Linked DNA regions of Homo sapiens: region 1 is linked to region 2. The links are contacts of gene promoters, found by promoter capture Hi-C in blood cells and fetal thymus (Javierre and others, 2016). All regions are on one chromosome and are shown on one strand. The core of a region is centred on a gene start or on the middle of the fragment in contact, and the rest is flanking DNA. Distances in the headings are between cores, read along the strand shown.

Region 1 (6,207 bases), core at 3,600-6,099, 2.4 Mb before region 2:
CAGGAGTTCAAGACCAGCCTGGCCAACATGGTGAAACCCTGTCTCTACTAAAAATACAAAAATTAGCTGGGCATGGTGGCGTGCACCTATAATTCCAGCTACTCAGGAGGCTGAGGTAGGAGAATCACTTGAACCTGGGAGGCGGAGGTTGTGGTGAGCCAAGATCGCACCACTGCATTCCAGCCTGGGCAACAGAGCAAGACTCCGTCTCAATGAATAAATAAATAAATATCTAAGAAGTATGGTTTCAGTTAATAGTCATTGTGCCTGGGACAATCCATTCAATTACCAAGACCAAGATGGCCACAATTTCAAACACTATTACTCCAAGTTCAAAATATGATATTTAGAAAAGAAATTGTAGGCTATGTCAAAACGGCAACAGTCTTTAGAAAAACTCTGTCTTCTAAAGAGATTCTATCCAACCAAAAAGGTAGTAACTGAATCATATTTTCTCATCCATTAAACCCCAAGCCAGAGAACTTGCCCTACTAATTTATTCATATTGCTGGAATTTTCTCCAACAGTATAAATGCTGGATATCAGGATGAATGGCATTACAGAAAGTTAACACACTCTTCTTCATTTTCACAGATAATCCAGGTTGACTTTCAAATATCTGTTTATGTTAACTTTTCAGTAATTAATATTGCTAACTTTCTGAGAACTCATAATGCCTATGTCAGGCCTCTGAGCCCAAGCCAAGCCATTGCATCCCCTGTGACTTGCACGTATACGCCCAGATGGCCTAAAGCAACTGAAGAATCACAAAAGAAGTGAATATGCCCTGCCCCACCTTAACTGATGACATTCCACCACAAAAGAAGTGTAAATGGCCGGTCCTTGCCTTAACTGATGACATTACCTTGTGAAAGTCCTTTTCCTGGCTCATCCTGGCTCAAAACCACCCCAACTGAGCACCTTGTGACCCCCACTCCTGCCCGCCAGAGAACAAACCCCCTTTGACTGTAATTTTCCTTTACCTACCCAAATCCTATAAAATGGCCCCACCCTTATCTCCCTTCACTGACTCTCTTTTCGGACTCAGCCCACCTGCACCCAGGTGAAATAGCCATGTTGCTCACACAAAGCCTATTTGGTGGTCTCTTCACACGGACGAGCATGAAAGCCTATACTTCTGCAAAAAGCTTGGTGGGAACTAGGAAACTACAGTATATTTCTTTTATTTGAAACACTTTCATTATTAGGCCAACTGATGTTCCTCACACAATCTAAGTATCCCATTATTTTAATTAAACTTGCTATAATTCATCTATGAAGGGAAAAATAATACATACCAACAAAGGGAAGGGTCTCTGTGAAACATATTACAAGAAAATACCTATGGACTAAAATAACACCTGAATTTCCTTTTAAGGTCATTTTTCAATTTATTCAGAATATTAAAATGGCACTCCCAAAAAGAGTACCAGTTAATATTTCTAATTTCTCTAATGTCCCTTATCAATTTTTTTTCCTCAGTAGACTTTCACAAATGAAAATCATCCATCTTATTAGAAGAAAGGCTGAGTTAGCAAGAACACGGACAATTTAACCACAGAGATTACAAGGTCCATGTTGGAAAACAGCACTTTTCATCAGCTCAACTCTTCATTTTAAATTTCTTTAGAATTTTTTTTTACATTTATAACTGTGACTGAATTTAACTAAACCCTTCTCTTCAAATAATATAATAAATCTTAAATCAGATCTTTAAAAAATGAGGGGTATGCCCTAGTCATTATTTTCATGGCTCTTGTCCTCACTCAAATCCATGCCACTATCCCTGTGCTAAAAGTGTCCTCATCATCTAAATAATCAGCAACAGGCTAAATTTGGTTTTAGGATTTGAGAAGAACCAGGCCCCAGAATGCTTCTCATCTCTGTATTCCTCGGAGACCCCTCCAGTTATAATTAGCTCAGTAATCTTCCCTGGCTAGCTGCCATCTATCAAATAGGAGTCACCAAAAAAGTTATGAAAAGAATTTTAACAAATGGGAAAGCTGATAGGCCTCAAGCATTTTTTAAGTGACAGAGGTACTTAAATGACTTTCCCTGAAATGTAAGTATGTACCTCAATTTAAGAACATCAGGGACATTTTTACATAATTTAGATAGATAATGGCACATTTAGAATCATTTTTTTTAAAAAAACAATGCCTCTAATATTAGAGCATTAGCATCCATTATAGCCTTAGCTGGCTAGACAACATTACTCTCTTCACTATTTATTAAGTTTCAAAACATTTAGAGTGATTACCCCATAACTCTCAGAACTTTTTAAAAGCAAAATTCCAAATGGCACCCACTGACAAACCTGACAAAAACCCACAGCTGCTGATGACCCCCGCCCCTGGTACCTTAAACTATGACAGGGAGCCCCCTTTCTCACTCAGCTAGGGAAGAGATGGTACTCACATCCATTTAGAATAACTGGGGGCCCTGGAACAATCCCTGGAGCAAGGAAGAGCAGAAGGAATGTCACAAGTAGGCAGAAGGTGACCCAACAGCAGAATAGCTAGGAATTATGCTGCAGATCCAGTAAAGAAAGGTCTTCCTAAGAGAAGGAATGTTAAGTGCCTGAGGGACAGAGACTTGGGGATGTGACCAAAGAAACGTGAACCTTTTTTTTTGACCAAGAAATATATACTAAGAACTCTCCTGCCTACCTCAATATTTTTATTAATTGAACATTTCCACCTAATAGTTTACGGTCAATATGCTTGAGGATGGAGATACCCAGCTTTCCTCTAAGGCACAATGCCTAGGATTTGGAGAAGGAGATACAAGCCAAGTATAGCAACCATCCTACTACATTCAAAACAGGTGTACACAACACTTAGGTGTAATGCCCAGATCTGCTGAACTTCAGTGCCTACCATAAGGGATATGCCAGAAATCCTAATACAGTACATCATACATAGTAAGAGCTCAAAAAAAATTTTGTTCACTGTATTCAGAAGAAAACCGTCACCAACTTGTACTCAAGTTGAGAGGTTATAAAAACTACAACCAAATTCATATTGTCCAAACGTTACCTTGCCCCACCCCGGCACTTTTTTTTTTTTTTTTTAACATAATAACACCTAGGCCTGAACATGAAACCTGGAATAGGAAAATAAAGAACTTTCATACCTGCCTTTTTTCTTTTAGTTCTGTTGATGACATGTGGTTATATTTTGGGTGGCAATGCTATCTGAAAGGCCACCATCATTTCAGGAAAGAAAAGTAAAATTGACTGGCTACCTAATATGTGCCTAGCACATCCACATAGTTCATCTCATTTCAGCCTCTCAATAACCCTGAGGCATAAGCATTACTGCCCAATTTTTATCTAAGAAGAAACTGAGGTTTGAAAGGTATGTGCCTAAGATCACCTGCTAGTAACGGTATTCAAATCTAAGTCTGTACCTTTCCATCTTTCTCAACATTTATATAATCTAAGAGGTGTTATAAAAACTACAACCAAAAATGTAAGATAAGCTACTAAATAGTAGATGGAAAATGCTAAGCTGTGGGCTTCTCATTTGTCATCCATGACAAATTCATTTAGAGTATCGTCCACTTACAAAACACTGTATTTCTCCCAAGGATATAATATTATCTTTGCCCAATGGGAACTGACAGTCTAGCTGGAGAAACAGGCCATTTCCACAGTTGTTAATGTTAGAAGCAACAAAAGATGTCGGGAAGGACTAGGGTTTTAGACACACTCATGTAAGAATTTCAGTGCTGTGCACTAGCAGCTCACACCTGTAATCCCAGTACTCTGGGAGGCTGAGGCTAGAAGATCGCTTAAGACCAGGAGTTTGAGACCAGCCTGAGAAACATAGGGAAAGCCTGTCTCTTTAAAAAAGGAGAAAAGTAGCCAGGCATGGTGGTGTGCACCTGTAGTCCCAGCTACTCAGGGGGCTGAGGTGGGAAAATTGCTTAAGCCAAGGAGATCAAGGCTGCAGTGAGCTGTGATCGCACCACTGCACTCCAGCCTGGCAACAAAGTGAGACCCTGCCTCAAAATCAATCTATCAATCAATCAGTGCTTTATACAAGCTGTGAACTTTGGACAAGATACTTAACTTTCCTCACCTGTAAGGGCAGGATAAAAAATCTACATCTCAGGACTCTTATAAAGCTTGAGAAAACCCATGAAAAAAAAAAGTTAGAAACCTAACATTTGTTAACTCTTTCCCCTATGAAGGAGCATGAACTACTAAGTGCCAGTGATTGGAAATATCAATATTTTCTGCAGCAAAGATCAAAGAATTTGATTTGCTTAAAAAAATAATCAAAACCAAAATTTCCAACCCTTACACTTGAAAGCTCTTTTGTGGAGACAGCTGTGTCATTTGCCAATTAGGTTTATCATTTACAACAGCAGCAGAGTTAAACATATAGAGGGCTCACACTGTACAAAATTTAAACAATGATAAACAGGAGCACATTCATGTCAAAAAATTTTGAGGAGGTGTCATATTCTTGTGCAAAACTGCCCATCTTAAAAGGAAAACTACCATTTAAAGTAAAAATGTATGACAACTATAGGCTATGGCATATGCCTAAGTCCCATCTACTCAGGAGGCTAACGCAGGAGGACAGCTTGAGCCCAGGGGCTTGAGGCTGTAGTGCACTATGATTGTTCCTGTGAATACCCACTGTACTCCAGCGTGGACAACACAGTAAGACCTTGACAAAAAAAGAAGAAAGAAAAAGAAAAAAGAAAAAAAGTGGCTGGCAACTAAGTGCAATCTGGTATCTTAGAGTGAATCATGGGAACTGTAATCTGAACAAAGCCTTTAGTTAACAGTAATGTACCTATGTTAATTTCTTAGTTTTGACAAATGTGCAACTTTTCTATAAATCCTGAAGTATTCCAAAATATAAAAAGTTTTTTTAAAAAAAGTGGATGACAAAGTAATGACAAACATACACAGCAACTCTTACCACTTGATTTTGAATCTTCTGAGGACAAGTTGGCATTACAGCAAAGGCTGTGAAATCAGTCAATGCTTGCCAATTCTGCAACCTATTCTAAAGCATAACTCTACATGGAACACCTTGGGTTTATTAATATTTCTAACTTTTAAAGAGAAGTAACTTGTCCACTTTTACCTAGCATATTCTTGCAAAATACCGCCTTTATGGTAACTGAATATTGTTATTACAAAACCAGTACGTTTCTAACAGTTCTGCCTTTCTATTCTTGAATAAGACATTTACTCAATCAGAACATAAGCATCTCTTACCACATATAAGGTATAACATGAATTTGAAAGTCTAATAACAAGTGACATTTCTGAGCTTAGCGCTAAAGGCAAGCATAGCGTTCGATCTGTTTCGATAATAACACAGGCAGTCGAATTCTCTTACTTTAATCTACTACACAAAATTTAAAGAAGAGTTAATAAAGCGATGTAGAACTCAGTAGGGCATTTTTATTCCCAGGGTCAAATGATGGCCATTACTGACACAACTTTTTTTTTCCAAAAGTACACCTACATTTATCAGGAAGCATAATAAGTGTTTGTGAACTTTACTAGCTGTGTGTTCATCAAGATGGCTGAAGCTTTCACACACTGGAGTCTACAAGGAAAGAGTTTACTTGCATACCAGAAGGCAAATCTCATGCTACAAACTGGTGTCAAAGGTTTATGCCAGCACCAATTTCAGTGAGTACACCGTACACACATGCATTCATATACACGTTACTGATAATCTCAGTTGAGGCATTCCCTAACCCTTTTTAAATACACATGTGGAATTTAGAGAGCAGTTTTCAAACTTCAAAGGAACCTTAATCATCTTTTCATAGTTCAAAAAAGGAAAAAATAAACACAGCAATGCAGCAAAGTCATTTCTCCAGCTGAAATGACCTCCAGCTTCTTCGGGCTACTCCCAGTTTCGCAATAAGTGAATCTGAGACGCAAACCACGTACACACAAACGAAGTAGAAGCGGAGAACACTAAAGCTTCCCCAACAGTCCCGGCAAAACCCACCCGGCTTTTCTCAGTCCTCCCGCTTCCCCAGCCCTTCCCGTCTGCGTGCACGCACAGGTACCTTGACACAGACCAGGAAAAGAGAACAAGGATTAATTAGCAGCCAAAAATCCTGTTTTATCACTTACAGCCACTATCCAGGAAAGCGACGGTACTACTAACCTGATTTCAGGGAGGCAAAACTAAACCCAGCAGGGTACAGGAGCATAAATTA
Region 2 (6,020 bases), core at 187-2,686:
CTGTAGTGAACTGTGATCGCACCACTGCACTCTAACCTTGGCGACAGAGTGAGACTTTGTCTCAAAAAAAAAAAATTCAAATAAAAATAATTGGGGTTGTGTTGGCAGGGAAAAAAGGGATACGTGGGAATGTATGTTGAGTGGACAACGAATGTCTGCCTCAGGATCCAAAGTAAGTCTGCAAAAACCCAATTCTGTGAGAAAGACAAGGAAGAAGGGAAGATGATGGTAGAATAGAACTACAATCCTAAGGATCACCTGCTAGTGGGAAACAAAACGGGTTGGGCAGACTGTTTATAGTATCAACTTCAAGCAGCAGAAAGGCAAAGCATTTGGAACCAGGTGGTTCTGGCATGGAGAGATGGGCGTGCCATAACCTCCACAAAAGCTATCGAGAGAATGACTACAGAGCCTTGACAGACACTCTGGTTACCGTTCAGAGATTCTGTACACGATCTTTCGGACTTTGCAGTCACATGTCTATGTAAACACGTTGAACACAAAAATTAGCAAGCAAGGGGTAAGTGCCGGCGTGAGGAAAATTCCCTTACAAGCTTCAGCTGACTGCCCCCTTCACCTGTTCTTTATCTTAATATCCTTGTTATTCGCTCTCTGCTGAAGAAGATTTCTTGCTATTTCAGGTGGGGCTGATGGGCACATCGTGAGGGGCCCTCTTCCGTAAAAACGAGACGATGTCAGGCAAACACTCCTTACCCTGCCATTTCTAGTTACGTCAAGGATCTTACTGCTCCAGGACGGAGGACCTTCAAGGAACTGCAGGGTAGCGATAATCACCGATGCAGTTAAGCCGGGCCCTGGGCTGATTCACTCTCAGACCCCGGGGGGAGTGGCCCTTGCGCCCGAAAGAGGGCTACGGCGTAGACCCGGCCCGGCACCCAAGTTGACTCCTTGCTTCCCGTACCCCAAAAGCCTAAGCGCGGAAGAGGCCGGGGACACCAAAGAAACCCGCACCAACTCCCCGACCCAGGCCCTGGGGAAAAATGGCGAAGCCCAGGGGCGGGGGACAGGACGGAGCGAGTGACCTGGCGCTCCCCGGGCCTCAGAGCCCGTGGAGTGGGTCGTGGTGGGCGACGCCACGCAACCGCGACCCGTCCGTTGCCTCCGCCATCTTCTCCTACTCACCCGGACTCCCCCCGCGGCCGCGCTGGCTTCGCGTTTCCCTTCCGGCCGCTGACAGAGATCCGGGCTGGGCGGGGTGGGCGAGCGCGCGGAGGGGGTGGACCGAGGGCGGGGAGGCCGGACGGAAGAGGAAAGGGAGGGCGGCGAGCCGGCCACGGCGGGGTGTGGAGCGTGCGGCGTGTGTGCGGAGGGAGAGGTGGGGGGCGGAGGAGAGGCGAGAAAGGGAGGGAGGCGGAGGAATGAGAGCGCGAGGCGCCTCTCGTCCGCTCCTAAGCCCGGGCGGAAAGAGCCGAGCGCAGCCCGAGCGCTCTGTTAAAATGGCGGCGGCGTCGGCGGTGGCCGCGGCGTCTGGTCGGTGAAGTGACTCTGCTGCTTCTCTCCCCACCCGCCCCCTCCCCCCCTCTCCCCTCCCCCCGTCCTTCCCCCCCTTCCCCGCCGCCGGCGCCTCGGCGCCCCTCCGGCCTGCGCACCTCCCCTCGCTCCCCTCCTCTCCCCCTCCCGCTGCGGGGACCGCCGGCCCCCTCCCCCATTCTCTTGCTCCCCGCCCCGTCCCCGCCGCCGCCCGCCCTAGTCGCCTCCCCGCCCCGCCGGCCGGCCGGCCCCCTCCTCCGCCTCTCTCCCCTCCCCCCCGCCGGTCGGGATCAGTCAGTGTGATCCGAAGCGGGGGAGGGGGGGGGCGGCGGCCGAACGATGTGCGAGAACTGCGCAGACCTGGTGGAGGTGTTAAATGAAAGTAAGTAGCCGCGGTAGCGGCCTGTCGGGGTGCACGGTTTGGGGTCCTCGCGCAGCTCTCTGGCCTCCCCGGGCTGCCGCGGCCTGCGGGAGGCGACGGCCGGGCCGGGCGGCGTGCGGGCCTAGCGCCCCGGGAAGGTGCGCGGTGGCGCGGCCGCCGCGGCGCCTCGGGCCCAGCCCGGCCGGGTTACCTGGGCGCCCGAGAGGCGGCCGCCGCGGAGCTCCGGCTCGGCCTGGCCCGGGCGCTCTGGGCTCTCGGAAAGTTTCCTCATTACAGGTGTCAATTAATGAAGGCAGTAATGAACCCCTCGCCGCCTTCGCCTCCTTCGCCCTGCCGGGAAGGTGCGGGGAGGTGGGGTCGGAGGACGAGGCTTTCCTCCGCAGTCCAAATCCTCCGGCCGCCCTCTTTGATTTCCAGCGTGCTGCCGAGGCCTCTCTTACCTGCTAATTTTCATTAAACTCCCGGGAGCAGGGTGGTGGTTTTTCCCTCCCTTGCGGGTTTGTGGGTGTCTTAAACACTTCAGCCAGACCTTAAATAGCTGAAAACGAACTGTGATAGTGATGATTGGAACCTTCATACCTATTTTTAAAATAAATTTGTTAATGATGTTTCTTAGTGTAGCATTCACCGCTTTAATGGTACATTCTGTTAAGCAGAGCACTGTACTACACATACCATCCCGGGATAGTTATGGCCTATCTCTCTTGGAAGGAAAGGCCTTTTACCTGGTACTTTACTTTTTATTATTAAAAAGGGTACGTTGATCTTTTCTGGCCTTTTTATTTTATTCTCGACCCTTGCAAGATGGTATTTCAGCTTATAGAAGATATATTGCAAATCAACTACTTCTGGGCGTAAAGGCCTAGTTGGCAGAGGTGAATTAGATGAAGGGATCAATTTACAAAAAGTTGATTGTTGAAAAAATGCTCACTTATGAACAGTTTATGTGGGTTTTGGATTTGTATTCTGTTTGTGATATTTCCACAGACTTTCAGACTATCTAATTTTGTAATACAATTCGCTAAAACAGTTGATTTATAAAATGTACCATGGTATTTGTGTTTGACTGTCACTTTAATGACCAAAGACAATAATAAAAGTGGAAGGGTTCTAACTTAATTTCAACTCCGTATTTACTTCCTGATAGGTGGAATAGGCTTTTGCACATATTCCAACTAGAGGTTCCAGTATTTGTGTCACCCTAAATTATCCTAGAATTTTAAGATTATTTGTGTGTATTTTGAGATACTTTTATTTCTGGCGCAGGCGGTTTACGATATGATAAACTTAAATCCTCAATACTTACTGTGTTTTATATCTCACATACAAGTCGTGTGATTATGATTGTTACGCTCAACTTGGAAAGTTAATCGTTTTGCAATGTAATATGAGGAACAAGTACTTAATTTTGTTGGTGATTTTAAATATCTTTTTTTTTTCTTGAGACAGAGTTTTGCTCTTGTTGCCCAAGCTGGAGGGCAATGGCATGATCTCGGCTCACTGCAAACTCTGCCTCCCAGGTTCAAGCGATTCTCCTGCCTCAGCCTCCCAAGTAGCTGGAAATGTAGGTTCCCCACACCATGCCCGGCTGATTTTTGTATTTTTGGTAGAGACGGGGTTTCACCATGTTGGTCAGGCTGGTCTTGAGCTCCTGACCTTGTGATCCGCCTGCCTCGGCCTCCCAAAGTGCTGGGATTACAGGCGTGAGCCACTGCGCCTGGCTGATTTTAAAATATCTTAAACTTGGAAAATTTTAAACAAAACATCTAAAGAAAGTAAAGTTGGTTTATCTTTTGAAAAGAGGTGGCATCTTGATCATAATGAAAGGTCTTATTTAAGATTATCTGGGAAACCCCTAGAACTTTGGTTAGAAGCACTGAAAAATGCAGTGCATTTATGGAGTGTTAGAAATGTGGAGAATTGAAATAGAATTTAGCTTTTATTACCTTTAAGCAAATACAGTTAGTTCAACCAGCTTCTCAAAATCTGGTCATGTGCACCCTCTAAGAAACCTGTTCTAATGAACAAGTAAGGATTTTCTATTTGTGTGTAAGCCAGTGGACTCTAAAAATACTTAGTTTCTTAATATTGCCTTTGAGGCTCAATTTAAAAGTTTAACTCTTAAACAATAATCTCACAGTGATGCTTCCTTTTTAAAAAAATTTACGGCCAGGCGCAGTGGCTCACGCCTGTAATCCCAACACTTTGCGAGGCCAAGGTTGGCGGATCACCTGAGGTTGGGAGTTCAAGACCAGCCTGACTAACATGGAGAAACCCCGTCTCTACTCAAAATACAAAATTAGCTGAGCGTGGTGGCACATGCTTGTAATCCCAGCTACTGGGGAGGCTGACCAGGAGAATTGCTTGAACCCGGAGGCGGAGGTTGCAGTGAGCCGAGATTGTGCCATTGCACTCCAGCCTGGGCAACAAGAGCGAAACTTTGTCTCAAAAAACATTTTTTTTACTTCAACAATTACATGTGTAGTTTATACCACACTATTAAAAGTTGTTTTTTTTTCTGTAGTTCTTTGCTTATCCGTGGCTATGATGGAGCATGATAATGAACATGAGTGGTTGGAGCTTGATAAAACTTGTTGAAGTAGATTATATGTGTTTCTTGTGATCTCATTTGCAGTAATTACCTATAAAGTCTGCCCTTTTCCCGCCTGTACCTTGTACAAAGATGAGCATCAGTTCAACGTTGATTTAGAAATTCAGAGTTGGCCGGGCAACTCTGAATACAGCTCACGCCTGTATTCCCAACACTTTGGGAGGCCGAGGTGGGCGGATCACAAGGTCAGGAGCTCGAGACCAGCCTGGCCAATATGGTGAAACCCCATCTCTACTAAAAATTCACCAATTAGCCGGGTGTGGTGGTGTAGGCATCTGTAGTCCCAGCTACTTGGGAGGCTGAGGCAGGAGAATTGCTTGAACCCTGGTAGGCGGAGGTTGCAGTGAGCCGAGATCATGCCACTGCACTCCAGCCTCGGCCACAGAACAAGACTCCATCTCAAAAAAAAAAAAAAAAAAAACAAAGTTACAGTCCTCCCAAAATGTGCTCAGAATTCATCTTTAAATACGACACCCTGTAACAGTTTAGCCAGCTGAGAGAAGCAATAAAATTGTGCATATTTTTGGGTGGTGTGTTTCCAGGTCATGCTGAAAAATACGTAATTAGTATTAAAGCAACCTCACAAAACAGTCAGACGTGGTGGTGCGCCCCTGTAATCCCGCCTCGGCAGGAGGCTGAGGCAGGAGGATTGTTTGAGGCCAGGAGTTCGAGACCAGCGTGGGCAACATAGTAAGACTGCTTTTTTTATTATTATTATTTTTTTATTTTTTATTTGGAGACAGAATCTCGCTGTGTCACCCAGGCTGGAGTGCAGTGGCACGGTTTCGGCTCACTACAACCTCTGCCTCCCTGGGTTCAGCAATTCTCCTGCCTCAGCCTCCCAAGTGGCTGGGATTACAGGCACACGTCACCATGCCCAGCTAATTTTTGTATTTTTAGTAGAAACGGGGTTTCACCATATTGGCCAGGCTGGTCTGAACTCCTTACCGTGTGATCTACCCGCTTCCGTCTCCCAAAATGCTAGGATTACAGGCGTGAGCCACCGCGCCTGGCCAAGACTGCTGTCTTGAAAAAACAAACCAAAAACACTGTTTCTTGTGAAATTAACAAACAGTGATCACACTTAGAGAAGGCTACCTGGGCAAACGAGTGTAATAAATTTTTTTTTTTTTTTTTGACACGGAGTCTAACTCTCACCCAGGCTGGAATGCAGTGTCGGCTAGCTGCAACCTCCACCTCCCGGATTCAAGTGATTCTTCTGCCTCAGCCTCCTGAGTAACTGAGACTACAGGCACCCGCCTCCTTGCCTGGCTAATTTTTGTATTTTTAGTAGAGGTGGGATTTTGCCATGTTGGCCAGGCTTGTCTCAAACTCCTGACCTCAGGGGATCTGCCTGCCTGTACCTCCCAAAGTGCTGCAATTACAGGAGTGAGCCAGCATGCCTGGCCTAAAAATTTTGTTTAAAAAATTTTTAGTTGATAAATAATAATTTTACATATTCATGGTGTACATAGTGATGTTTCAATACATAAAACGTATAGTGATCAGTTGAAGTTAATTAGTATATCCATCTCA

The links. The method cuts DNA at HindIII sites, captures the fragments that hold promoters and counts their contacts. A CHiCAGO score of 5 or more calls a contact.
Region 1: a fragment that was not itself captured here is called in contact with the fragment with the promoter of USP34 in region 2 in 1 of 17 cell types (fetal thymus); the score reaches 5.5 in fetal thymus.

What each region holds. Positions count from the first base shown.
Region 1 is chr2:63,842,386-63,848,592 of GRCh38, reverse strand. The region is part of intron 1 of UGP2 (UDP-glucose pyrophosphorylase 2); the gene reads right to left. Among named protein-coding and RNA genes, the nearest start is that of UGP2, 3.6 kb to the right of the region's middle. RefSeq lists an enhancer at 507-1,287. The HindIII fragment of the contact is 1,431 bases long and covers 4,134-5,564 here.
Region 2 is chr2:61,466,503-61,472,522 of GRCh38, reverse strand. USP34 (ubiquitin specific peptidase 34) reads left to right here and starts at 1,436. Exons shown (of 80, transcript NM_014709.4): 1 at 1,436-1,873. The coding sequence starts at 1,831. It overlaps USP34-DT (USP34 divergent transcript), which reads right to left and starts at 1,427. Exons shown (of 3, transcript NR_185882.1): 1 at 1,144-1,427. RefSeq lists silencers at 1,185-1,494, 1,525-1,604, 1,695-2,114 and an enhancer at 5,158-5,657. The HindIII fragment of the contact is 6,929 bases long and covers 557-6,020 here.